Regions from separate parts of the Homo sapiens genome. Here region 1 is linked to region 2. The links are contacts of gene promoters, found by promoter capture Hi-C in blood cells and fetal thymus (Javierre and others, 2016). All regions are on one chromosome and are shown on one strand. The core of a region is centred on a gene start or on the middle of the fragment in contact, and the rest is flanking DNA. Distances in the headings are between cores, read along the strand shown. Region 1 overlaps OLFML1 (olfactomedin like 1). Region 2 holds the start of FHIP1B (FHF complex subunit HOOK interacting protein 1B).

Region 1 (6,346 bases), core at 533-3,032, 1.3 Mb after region 2:
CCAGAAAGCAGACAGCTCATGTTTATAAAGTAATCTCTCCTTTTTCTCCTGTTTGGCCAGGCTGTGACAACATGCTGATGGGCATAAAGTCTTTGAAAATAGTGAAGAAGATGATGGACACACATGGCTCTTGGATGAAAGATGCTGTCTATAACTCTCCAAAGGTGTACTTATTAATTGGATCCAGAAACAACACTGTTTGGGAATTTGCAAACATACGGGCATTCATGGAGGATAACACCAAGCCAGCTCCCCGGAAGCAAATCCTAACACTTTCCTGGCAGGGAACAGGCCAAGTGATCTACAAAGGTTTTCTATTTTTTCATAACCAAGCAACTTCTAATGAGATAATCAAATATAACCTGCAGAAGAGGACTGTGGAAGATCGAATGCTGCTCCCAGGAGGGGTAGGCCGAGCATTGGTTTACCAGCACTCCCCCTCAACTTACATTGACCTGGCTGTGGATGAGCATGGGCTCTGGGCCATCCACTCTGGGCCAGGCACCCATAGCCATTTGGTTCTCACAAAGATTGAGCCGGGCACACTGGGAGTGGAGCATTCATGGGATACCCCATGCAGAAGCCAGGATGCTGAAGCCTCATTCCTCTTGTGTGGGGTTCTCTATGTGGTCTACAGTACTGGGGGCCAGGGCCCTCATCGCATCACCTGCATCTATGATCCACTGGGCACTATCAGTGAGGAGGACTTGCCCAACTTGTTCTTCCCCAAGAGACCAAGAAGTCACTCCATGATCCATTACAACCCCAGAGATAAGCAGCTCTATGCCTGGAATGAAGGAAACCAGATCATTTACAAACTCCAGACAAAGAGAAAGCTGCCTCTGAAGTAATGCATTACAGCTGTGAGAAAGAGCACTGTGGCTTTGGCAGCTGTTCTACAGGACAGTGAGGCTATAGCCCCTTCACAATATAGTATCCCTCTAATCACACACAGGAAGAGTGTGTAGAAGTGGAAATACGTATGCCTCCTTTCCCAAATGTCACTGCCTTAGGTATCTTCCAAGAGCTTAGATGAGAGCATATCATCAGGAAAGTTTCAACAATGTCCATTACTCCCCCAAACCTCCTGGCTCTCAAGGATGACCACATTCTGATACAGCCTACTTCAAGCCTTTTGTTTTACTGCTCCCCAGCATTTACTGTAACTCTGCCATCTTCCCTCCCACAATTAGAGTTGTATGCCAGCCCCTAATATTCACCACTGGCTTTTCTCTCCCCTGGCCTTTGCTGAAGCTCTTCCCTCTTTTTCAAATGTCTATTGATATTCTCCCATTTTCACTGCCCAACTAAAATACTATTAATATTTCTTTCTTTTCTTTTCTTTTTTTTGAGACAAGGTCTCACTATGTTGCCCAGGCTGGTCTCAAACTCCAGAGCTCAAGAGATCCTCCTGCCTCAGCCTCCTAAGTACCTGGGATTACAGGCATGTGCCACCACACCTGGCTTAAAATACTATTTCTTATTGAGGTTTAACCTCTATTTCCCCTAGCCCTGTCCTTCCACTAAGCTTGGTAGATGTAATAATAAAGTGAAAATATTAACATTTGAATATCGCTTTCCAGGTGTGGAGTGTTTGCACATCATTTAATTCTCGTTTCACCTTTGTGAAACATGCACAAGTCTTTACAGCTGTCATTCTAGAGTTTAGGTGAGTAACACAATTACAAAGTGAAAGATACAGCTAGAAAATACTACAAATCCCATAGTTTTTCCATTGCCCAAGGAAGCATCAAATACGTATGTTTGTTCACCTACTCTTATAGTCAATGCGTTCATCGTTTCAGCCTAAAAATAATAGTCTGTCCCTTTAGCCAGTTTTCATGTCTGCACAAGACCTTTCAATAGGCCTTTCAAATGATAATTCCTCCAGAAAACCAGTCTAAGGGTGAGGACCCCAACTCTAGCCTCCTCTTGTCTTGCTGTCCTCTGTTTCTCTCTTTCTGCTTTAAATTCAATAAAAGTGACACTGAGCAAATAACCTCATCAGGTTATATTTGCCCACATACCCTAAGCACAAAAGCTTTCTGGGAGTGCTGCTTGTGTTAGGTTTACTGTGAATGATTCCCAACACACTGAGGCCCTGGTAAATATTCTGGAATCTGGACAGAAGCCATACAGCAGGCAAGCGACTCTGCCACAGCAGGCATGCCCTGTGGCACCGAGGGCAGCATGCCTCTTGACAGGGGCTTCCTCAGTGTTTCCCACGTGTTTGTCCAATTCAGCTAAGTTCGAGTCACAAGTGCAGGCTGTGGTGCCAGTCTGTGTCACGTGCTGAAGCCTCTGTCTTTCCAGGTTGGTCACATGAGAAGGTTTGCTTTGTGTGCTTGCAGCTGTTTTCCTGTCTTTGCCAAGCCCAGGCTGGGACCATAGGCAGTGAAGAGAAAATGTTTTTTTCCATAGCATTTGAGTAGATATTTGGCAGAAGGGAATTACTCAACCCATGGATACAGTGTAATTACCCACAGTTCTAACAGAATGGTACAGAGAGGCCAAATCCTTTGTGGAATGAGACAGGTATGAATAAATAAATGTGATATTACCTGCCCTATTACCTACCTATTTCACAGATAGAAGGAATGTGGGCTGCCTCACAGAGGATAGTGGGGTAGATTTATCAATAGGAGTGAGTCCTGCAACCATAGTTCCTTTGGAGGCACAGAGGGGAGGTTGCCTGAAATGTGCTGTCTAGATTCCACCTGGGATATGATTTGATTGACAGCTCTGCAGGGCACATCTGCCCCAAACAACTCACCTTGGTACCTACCTTAAATCCCTGCAGCTCGAATCACTCTTTTAGGTCAAGACATTTTCTCCAGGAAGCCCCTGTTAAGGGACCACTTTGCTTCTTGTGAGCCAGCGCAGGTCAGTATGCAGGCCTGGGAATGGGGTTTCTTTCAGGTGAACGTTTTAGCTCTGGGGTCTTGTTGGATTTAAGTGAAGACTGACATCGACATGGCCTACATCAGTGGTTCTTAAACTTTGTTGCACATAAGAATCACCTGCGGAGTTTTAACAGTCCTCATGCCGTGGCCATATCCCCAAGACCATTAAATCAGAACCTCTGGGGATGGATCGAGATATCAGTATTTTTAAAGTTCCTTCCCGCAAGTTGGTTCCAAAGTGCAAAGAAGCTCCAGAGCCGGTGACTTAGAACATTTAAAAAGGTAACTGTATCAATTTAAGAACAGGCTAGCAGTTTCTGGGGGCGGAGGTAAGGGGAGTGGCTCCGCTAGGGCAATAAAGGGTGGGATTCGGAAACAGCCATGACCTTGTGTGAACTGTGGCAGCCTGCGTCTACAAAAGTCGCTCTGCTGCTATTTTAAGGAAGTGAAAGAGAACTGAAGGGTGTCCTGTTGTAACACAACTCTTGCGGGCCCCAGCCTTCCCCTGCTGGCTGTGCTTTGGTCTGCTGCTGGCCAGGTTCCCGCAGTGACCACACGTCTCATATTTGCCAGGGTGGGTTAGGTTCTGTTCACATGTAAAATTCTCCTGGGCCTACTGGTCATTTCAGACCGCGAGGGTAAATTTGGTTTGAAAAAGTTGTGTCCTGTGGAGTTTGTCGACACTCCAGCCTGTAGAGAACTAAAGGCTAGGGCTGTGGTGACTCCTGCCAGAGCTGGGGACTATGCCGAGTCCCTGGTGTCGCTGCCATCTGAGGCCTACAGGGATTTTAAACAGCTTAACAGCAGCCAGTCCTTGGAGGCCTGGGCAGGGCCACAACATAGCAGTACAACCAAAACGGGTTCAGGCCACACGCTGGAGGTAGGGGCTGGACCAGATCTCCAGCTTCAGTCCTCCCCAGTTCGAGAACCCATTCCTGTGGTCAGACATTGCCAACGCTTTTCTTGGACCTAAGGTCCCAGACCTTGGCGCTGGGCACAGGGAAATGCTTCCTGACCTCGGCTCTTCATAAGACAGAACTTTTGTTTGGTGCCAACCACTAGAGGGACCTCCACCCCAGGTTGCGAGTGCAGCGCGGCGGGACCTGGGATGATTCGGGGGCTTTCCGACCTGCTTAGGGAGGGCGGCTCAGAGACAACCTCAATTTTGCCTGGATTGCACGCGGGCCGAGGAAGTCGGGATGCTCCGAAGGGTTTCTGCTCTGGGAGTGCCTCTAATGTGGGTTTTCTATGCTTTCTCTCTTCGCAATTCTCGACACCGTTTCCTTCTTCCTCGCTTTCATTCCCTGTGACCGGAGAACGGCGCTGAAGGACTGGAGAAGCCCAGGAGACTGGGAGCCGGAGCGCCGGGTACCCACCCGGGCCTCCCCGCAACCGGAGCTGTGCGGAGGAGGAGGCGCGGCGAACGGGGCGGGGCTCCCGGAAGGGGGCGCGGTCCGCCGAGAGAGGCGGGGCTGGGGCCCGGACGCGCGGCCCAGGGGGTGGGGACGAGGCAGGTTCGAAGGGGCGGGGCTGACCAGGCCGGTCCCCCGGGAACAGGAACCCTGGTGGACGGGTCCCAGCAGGCTTCTTCGGTGCCCGAGAGGGAGCGGGTGCCCAAGGGGGTGGTCCCTGTGGCAGGTCCCGGGGTGGGGGCGCGGCGCTCCGGGAAGAGCCTTCCGCAGGTCCCCGCCCCGTCACGTGGGCGCCGGCCCCGGCCGCTGCGGTCGGTCCGCTGGTTGGTCGGGCGCTTGGTCCGGCAGTTGGTCGGTGGGCCAGTGGCCCGTCGCTCGCTTCTGGGCTCTCATGTTTGAAGGTGGGAGGGACACGGGAGCGGCCCGCACACCTGAGCCGCCCGGAGAGGAGCCTCGGCCCCGTACCCAGGTCAGTGGGCTCTCCCCACACCCCGGGCTTGCCGCGCGGTCGGGGTTGGGATCCCCGTCGGGAGCATTACCTAGGGAGTGGAGCGCCCCCAGAGCTACGAACCACGGGGACGTGTGGGTCAGTGTCTCTGTGAGCCCCGGAGCGTGTCCCAGGCTCGAGGACGGGGACCCTTCTCCAACTCCACTGGCCAGAAGCCTGGGAGGAGGGCAGAACTCCTGTGGGTTGGCTGCGAATCTCCACCCAACCCTGCCTGGGATCCGCGGACAGTCCGCACTCCTGCAGGTGCCAGCGTGGCCCTGGAGATGCGCAGGGAGGTGGGGTCCCTGAGTTCTGTGCGGCGCGTCCCAGCCCTGCTCAGCCCGGGGAGCAGCGGCGTGGACTAGGGAGCCTAAGGAGGTTGCGGAAGCTTTAGGTCTGTCAGCCCAGGCAATTCTCTGGTGGACACAGCGTGTGTCTAGATGCAGGGCCTCGGCTAAAGCCAGTTCTGTAGTGTAAGTGCAAAAATACAGCACACTTTTTAAAATCTAAAGCCGCCGCGTCCCAGTAGACTGCAGGATGGGGACGGTCCTATTTAAAAGTGGGCTCCCTCCTCACCTCATCACATCAGATTCCAGACCCGCAGTTTTTCCTCGGATGAAAATAAGATTATGTAACAAGAGAACAGAACTTCCAGCGTTTGGATAGGATTAAGACAGGCATTCTTGCCAGTGTTTAATCTTCTTAAAAAACGAATCTAATTATATTTTTACTTTTAGAGCAGCCAGATATTTGGTATAGATCCGTGTCCCTTTTCTATATTTTGGTCTACTTCCTGTCTTTCTCTTCGTCTCTCTCCTTTCTCAACCCCTCCTTAATTGATTGTAATACAAATCTGAAGTGTTTTCAAATTTGTAGTGTATTATGTGAAGTTAAATGGTCAACTACAGAAAAGTAGTTGGTTTTCGACATAATTCATCTTCAGCATATTCAGTCTTTCATTATTATAGGTGTATGGAAAGCTGTAAGTGTTATCTAATTTAGAAATTATTTCTCTTTGGCTTAAGAGAGGCAACCCATTTGTACTTTGCTTAAATTCATAGCTAAATAAATTTGAAGTGGGAGATGGGGATGATTGATGAGGTTTTCACTGATTGCATTTATCCATGTTTTATTTAACATATTTCAATTATTAGTAATACTATTTTAAGATTTGGTGATGTGACAGTTGTTAGCTTATTGCTACTGGAGAGATAAGCTGCTTACCATGATGCCTTCTTTACTGGGTAGCTAAGGGAGATGCGCTTTGACTTTAAAAGAGTAAGTGGAATGAGATCAATGACATGAAGGCGGTAGGAACAAAGTTATGGGAATTCCTGTCTTTCATCTGAGCAGGGAAATCTGGGATAATTTTAAGAAAGGGTGATGTGATGGACCTCAAAGGATCCCTCCTGGGGTTTTTGAGGCAGAGAAGGGTAGAGTGTGGCCTGGGCTGTGACAACTGTGTGGGCAGGCAGGCATGGACTCACCATGAGAAGTGGCCAGTGGTCCAGCTTGGCTCTTATGTCAAGTGCTAGTCAGGAAAG
Region 2 (6,353 bases), core at 3,854-6,353:
GCCAAGCATTCAGTCTCAGTAAGGTCTTAACATGTCCAAAACTAAACTGCCTCCAGCTTCTGGAATTTAATTTCAAACATTAACTGCTCCTACCTTGCAGTATACCTGAGGTGCCCATTATTGCTCCACCACTTGACCAACAAAGGGTACTGCTCATGGAACCAAGGAAGATTAGCCTCCAGGACCCTTCCTCACCCACCTGCCCACCGCAGTTCTACAATCCCATTTCAAAGACCTCAAGAGAAGATGTTGGAATCAGCATCTCAGATTCCAAAAGCCAATACTTAAACTGGGCCCTGTTCACATACAACAAAAGCATAAAAGAAAGCTATAGTTTGGTATTCCTATCACCTAATTAGACTCTCTGCAATGTTCAGAACAAGACAAAGAAAAGGTTAAAATCACCACCCTCTCATGGTGTCCTTTCCTCCCATAGCAAAGTCCAAAAAAAAAAAAAAAAAGCAGAACCTGCCACTCTCCAGATTTACCTTCAGGCTCAGCCACAGAGTAAAAAGGGGAACGAGCTGATCTCTCAGACCCAAAATGGCCAAGATCAGGCACTCACCTTATAGCCCAAAATACAGCCTTACAGCCACACACAGCAAGGGTGACAACCAACCTCGGAACTGCAGATACAGGGCAGGAAGTGGCTCAGCCTCACTTATGAACCTTTGCCCTGGGAGAGGCAAAGAGGAGGGAGCTGGGGGAAGGGATATACCTGCAACACCTACATTGGACAGAGAGACCAAAATGATCTTCCAAGAACAGGTCAGTAAAATTCTGTGGTGTCTCTCTCCTTACAGTGGCTCTTCCTAGGCAAGAAGACTAATTACTGACATAAGGAGGATGAATGGGCTGTTACCCTAAATACTGGAAGTTGAATGACCTGATTAAAATCTCATAGAAATACAAAGGGAAAAACCAACCAACCAAAAACACCACCTACTAGGAATTTATACTAGAGCTCAGCTTACACATTTCTTCCCTGCTTTTCCATCCCTCAGACAAATGGGATGTCAGGGTATGGTCCCAACTCATTCCCTTCCCTCCCCGCAATATCACTTCTGCTTCTTGCAGGGATCTCCTCATCTGACTCCAGCGGGGTCCATCCAATTCACAAAAGTGAACCTCTATTCTACAGTGACTCCTCTTTACAGCAATGAATCCTCATGTCACACACAGTTATCTCTACCTTGACAGAGATGTCAAAAAGGAGGTGAAACTGAACTAGATCCTAAAGGATAAGGAAAGTTCACTGGGCAGAGAAGAAAAGGCATTCCTAGTAGAGGAAGCAGCTATTACAAAGATTTCAAGGCTCAAAAAAGCAGCATGGTTTTAGGGAACTGTGAACAATTTATTCAAACTAGAATACAGACTAGGGAGTGGCACACGAGACTGGAGAGGTAAGCTGAAGCTAAATGATGCCATATTAAGAAATTTGGATGTTGTCCTACAGGACACAAAGAGCCAAAAGTTTTTAAGCCAAGGAGTTCGGAGATCAGATGTGTATTTTCAGAAAAATCATTCTAGGGATGGACCAGAAAATAGCAAGTTTTAAGACAAAAAATTGTTTTAAAAAAATCATATGAGGTGAGGGGGAGCTAAACTAAAGCTTTGACAGTGAAGATGTAGCAATGGAGATATAGAGAAGAGAGATAACACAGAGCGAAATGTATTAAGATTCTAGCAAATGATTGAATGCAGGGAGTAAAAGAGCAGAAAGTATGAAAGATGACAATGTAGTCCTTGCCTGGAGTGAGATAGGGGATATGAGGGCAAAGTCGGGCTTTTGGGGCAAAGACTATGAATTCTGTTTTGGACATGTTAATTTTGAGATACTTGTGGAGATACACAGATCAATAAACATGTATACTTGGAATACAGGGAAAGATGACACTAGATACAAAGGAGTAATCAACTCATTATGATATATTTTCTTTTTTTTTTTTTTTTTTTTCTTGAGGTGGGGCCTCTGTCACCCAGGCTGAAGTGCAGTGGTGTGACCTCATCTCACTGCAACCTCTGCCTCCCAGGCTCAAGCAATCCTCCCACCTCAGCCTCCGGAGTAGCCAGGACCACAAGTATGTGCAACCACACCTGGCTAATTTTTGGTGGGTTTTTTTGGTGGTGGTTTTATTGTCGTTGTTGTTGTTGTTTTGGTAGAGGCAGGGTTTCAAAATGTTGCCCAGGTTGGTCTCAAACTCCTGAAGTCAAGCGATCTGCCTGCCTCAGCCTCCCAAAATGCTAGGCGTGAGCCACTACGCCCAGCCTATTATGATATATTTTCACATTTCACATTATCTCTCTAAATTGAAATTATGTTTTCATGTGTCTCTCTCTCCCTACTAGACTGAAAATCCCTTGAGAGCTCGGATGACCATGTTTTATTCATGTTGTTATCCCATAAAATGTGAGCATCACAAGCACAGACTATATGTTGAAGAAGTATTTGTTGAATGAATAAACGAATTCATTCTCCTAGCACTTAGTAGAGTGCCTGGCACAGAGCAGATATGGAATAAATGATTAACACAGTACCCTAAACATGTTTCTATCTCTACATCATCATCCTCATGTATGTTTCATCCTCTCAGAACTACCACTCACTATATGATACAAATCAAAATCCATTATACTTAATGCACTACTATTTCAACAGAGTTTGGGATAGCAAACAATAAGCTTACCAAATCCAGTGCTTTCTCCATTATAACAAGGATTTAGACAGTCCCTAAGAACCATCTAATATTTGATTTGATTCATCCTATCACTATCATGATATGATCCACTATCAAGATGTGATCCAGGTATTATATATACCTGTTCCAATGTCACTGCGACAGCATTAAACATAACCTTCATCCCTATGTCACTCTCACAGTCCCTTTTCTGTCTTTTGGAAATAGAACAATTACAAATCATTAAAAAATCCTCCCACATCACCTTCAGTGTCTATTATAAATCTTCTTTCCCAAAGTCTCTCTCACTCTGAGACAAAATTCTGGGTTCAGCCTTGCCACTGTATCCCTGTATGATCTCTGGCTACTGAATTTAATTTCTCATCTATAAAATGAAAGTTCCTGTCTTTGTCTACAAGGTATCTATATAAATCAGTATAATAAAATTTGAAATCCCTATGTAAAGCATGAATGCTGTTCAGATGTTAAGTTATACAGAATCATTGTATAAATGTATGCTTCCTCAACCTAATACAACAGCCACACCATCATCACTTTAAATTTCTGAAGTTCATAAAGCTATAGAAATAATTTTTAAAATTAAAAATTGGGTTGACACTTTTTATTTGGGTAAATTAGATCTTTTTTTTTTTAACCCACCATCTACTGTTACCATTACTGCATCAACGAAAGAGCACTGCAACACCAAAAGAATAGGAATGATAATCTCTGAGAATAAATTTATCTTCATGAATAACCATACTGTCTTTCTCTCCCTCCATCTTGGATAGATGATAATTTTATCATGTACAGGGTCCTTGGTCCAGTGTTTAGGAACCACTACTCTAAACTCTGAACTGTAAGTTCTGACTGACTGGGCAAGTTGCCAAGTGTTCTACCAATATGGAGGCCTGTCTGGACTCCAGAAAGAAGCAATGAGAATATACCACAGGATATAGGAGTTGGCTCTGAAGCTAAGACTCTGGAAAAGAATGGGGACTGAGGCTGTCTAATTCTCAGGAAATGGTCTCTCCCTGTCCACTGTAGAGTTAAGGAAAGACTTAACTCTTTCTGAGTCTGGAAAGAATAGGATGTCCCAACCCCATGGCTGACTAGCAGTAGAGAGGAAAATTTAGTAGTGTGAAAGTGGCCATTATCACTGAATGCCAAACCAACTTTCCAGAATTTCACGTGCATTTGGGTTGGTGGGGAGAAGAGGACCTAAAAGAATGCTAGTAAGATGAACCCAACTACAGGGTGTGGAGAGGAAGAGATAAATTTTCAGGTGGCTAAAATGTTCAGTATCTTGAGACTGATGATGATTTCACAGATGTGTACACATGTCAAAACTCATCAAACACACATTTTAAATATAATATAAACTAGCTTTTTAAAAAATTCAACTGTAAGAAAGGAGAGTAAGGCCATCCTGTTTGGGATCCTAAATATAGTACTGTATAGGGCAAACCATATGACCTCCATAAAAGTAGAATTAGCAACTGAATATGGTCAATCCAATCAAAGACCCACAGTTAAGCACAGGTAAGGAGCAACAGTGGAATAAGGTTGTCCAGAAGCAAGTAGAGAGAAAACACAAGCTGTCACAGCGCAAAACCCTTCATGAGAGGGCCCATCTTCAACTATGCAGTCCAGAGAAGGAACTCGAAGGAACTGAAGTTTCTGTGATTACTCTGTTGAAGTCTGAGCCTCAAATATGACTTTCATTACCATAGTACTATTGCCTATGACACCTTCATTTTCTCGTCCTCCAGAATATGGAAAGTCCATGGGAGCAGAGGAGTCAGGTGCACAACACTTCCATCTAAGCTGCCCTACTTTGTCTAAAACTATTGCTCTCACTGGACAGGGCAGTCCATCGAAGGAGGCCTCAGAACCAACCTCTCACCTTTATCCAAGTCTCACAAGCCCTAATTCCCTCCTCCCATGCCTCGCCTTCAACTCCCTCACCAATTTGCCGCCACCCCGCAGGCTCCCACCTGCGCCTTTTACTCTCTCTCTCCTCGCGCAGGCCTTACCCCTCACTCTAGTCCCAGGGTATCCTTCACACCAGCCCTCAGTAGCCCCAGCCCTAGTAAACCGCGTTCAGGAGTCCCTTCAACTTGGCACCTCCGAAAGCACCCAGCCTCTCACAGCCCCTCATTTGTCCACTCACCTGTAAGCTCTCACCCTCCTTCCCTATCTTAGACACTCACACCCGGACCCTCACCACCTGCCAACCCCTCACAACCAGTACAGTAACCAAACCCGTCACCGTCTTTTCCCAGTCTCTCATCCCCACAAACGACTCTCCAGGCCCTCTGGCCCATGCGTACCGTTCACTCACGGAACGCCGAACCTGGCCGGGCCCGGTTGCTGCTGCGGTGTTAGGTGAGTTCAGGCCGCCGCCATCGCTTCTCAAGCGCACCAGCCGCGCCCCGCCCCGCGCCACACGCAGCCCGCGCCCCCGCGCACCACACGCAACCGCCCGGCGTCGCACGACTGGGCAATGGCGTGCCAGCTCATTGGCTGAGCCGGACCAAACCCGAGCAAGGACGCTTGTTTCCTGGCAACGGCTAAACGCAAGGGCGGGGTCGCCGACGGCTATCCGAGGGAGGAGCACCGCCTCTCCTCTTGGTTCCGTCCCTTCGTACGTAAACCCCGCCCCTCAGAAGGACTCCGGCGTGTCATAGGCGAAGGCCTCTGGGAAGGTGGAGGCCGGCAGGGCGGAGGCGGAGCCCGGGAAGGAAAGGTGGAACCAGAGGGCAGAAGGCGGGACCTAAGGAGAGGCGATTTTTACAGGCAGGGAAAGATCAGAAGGGCGGGGCTTGGGAGAGATGGAGCCGGAAGAAAGACGAGCGAGAAAGGGGTGGGGCCATGGATTCCAGGAGACGCTTGGAGTGGAAGAGTGGGTGTGGAGGGGCGAGGCTATCACGAAAAGAGAGGAGGAATCAGTAGGTGGGCCGGGCCTGCGGAAAAGTGGAGCCCTAGAGAGGGCTGACTGCGGGCACTCTAGTTCATTTTGCTCCATCGTCGTGCATAGCTTGGTCTCTACTTTAGTACCCCAGCGGTGACTGCCCCTGGCTCCCCCAACACCGCTGTGCTGTGCTGCTCCGTCACCCCTTGAGCACTTAGTCAAGGAACACGGAATAAGTGCCTGCATGCCCAGCTGGATTCCGGATCAATTAGAACCGGCCTCTGCTCTCCAGGACCTCAGAGAATTGCAGCGTAGTGTAATAAGTACATTACTACGGGGGCCACCTAGGAGCAGCACTTAGCATGATTTGCATGTATAGAGGATGAGAGGAAGGTACGGTGAAGGAGCTTAGGGAAGACTTCCGGGAGGTGACGGTGTCTAAGCCGAGTCTTGGGAAACAAGCAAGAGTAAGATAAACTAAAATAGAAAAATAGAAGTTTCAGATAAGGCATGTAGTTTTAAAAGTACTTTACCGGCTGGGCGCGGTGGCTCACGCCTGTAATCCCAGCACTTTGAGAGGCCGAGGCGGGCGGATCACGAGGTCAAGAGTTCGAGACCAGCCTGACCAACATAGTGAAACCCCGTCCCTACTACAAATACAAAAATTAACTGGGCGTAGTGGCGCGCGCCTGTAATCCCAGCTGCTTGGGAGGCTGGGGCAGGAGAATCGCTTGAACCCGGGAGGCGGAGGTTGCAGTTAG

Evidence for each region. The method cuts DNA at HindIII sites, captures the fragments that hold promoters and counts their contacts. A CHiCAGO score of 5 or more calls a contact.
Region 1: a contact is called between a fragment that was not itself captured here and the fragment with the promoter of FHIP1B in region 2, in 1 of 17 cell types (total CD8 T cells). The highest score is 8.1, in total CD8 T cells.

What each region holds. Positions count from the first base shown.
Region 1 is chr11:7,509,338-7,515,683 of GRCh38, forward strand. It overlaps OLFML1 (olfactomedin like 1), which reads left to right. Exons shown (of 3, transcript NM_198474.4): 3 at 61-2,040. The coding sequence ends at 851. It overlaps LOC124902806 (leucine-rich repeat extensin-like protein 5), which reads right to left. Exons shown (of 4, transcript XM_047428005.1): 2 at 4,781-5,268; 3 at 2,786-4,703. The coding sequence ends at 3,873. PPFIBP2 (PPFIB scaffold protein 2) reads left to right here and starts at 4,662. Exons shown (of 24, transcript NM_003621.5): 1 at 4,662-4,784. RefSeq lists an enhancer at 3,438-3,557 and a silencer at 4,228-4,757. The HindIII fragment of the contact is 513 bases long and covers 1,527-2,039 here.
Region 2 is chr11:6,229,533-6,235,885 of GRCh38, forward strand. It overlaps FHIP1B (FHF complex subunit HOOK interacting protein 1B), which reads right to left and starts at 5,104. Exons shown (of 12, transcript NM_001098794.2): 1 at 5,012-5,104. It also overlaps a transcript of CNGA4 not described here. RefSeq lists silencers at 4,779-4,828, 5,009-5,308 and enhancers at 5,351-6,041, 5,439-5,518. The HindIII fragment of the contact is 4,704 bases long and covers 2,681-6,353 here.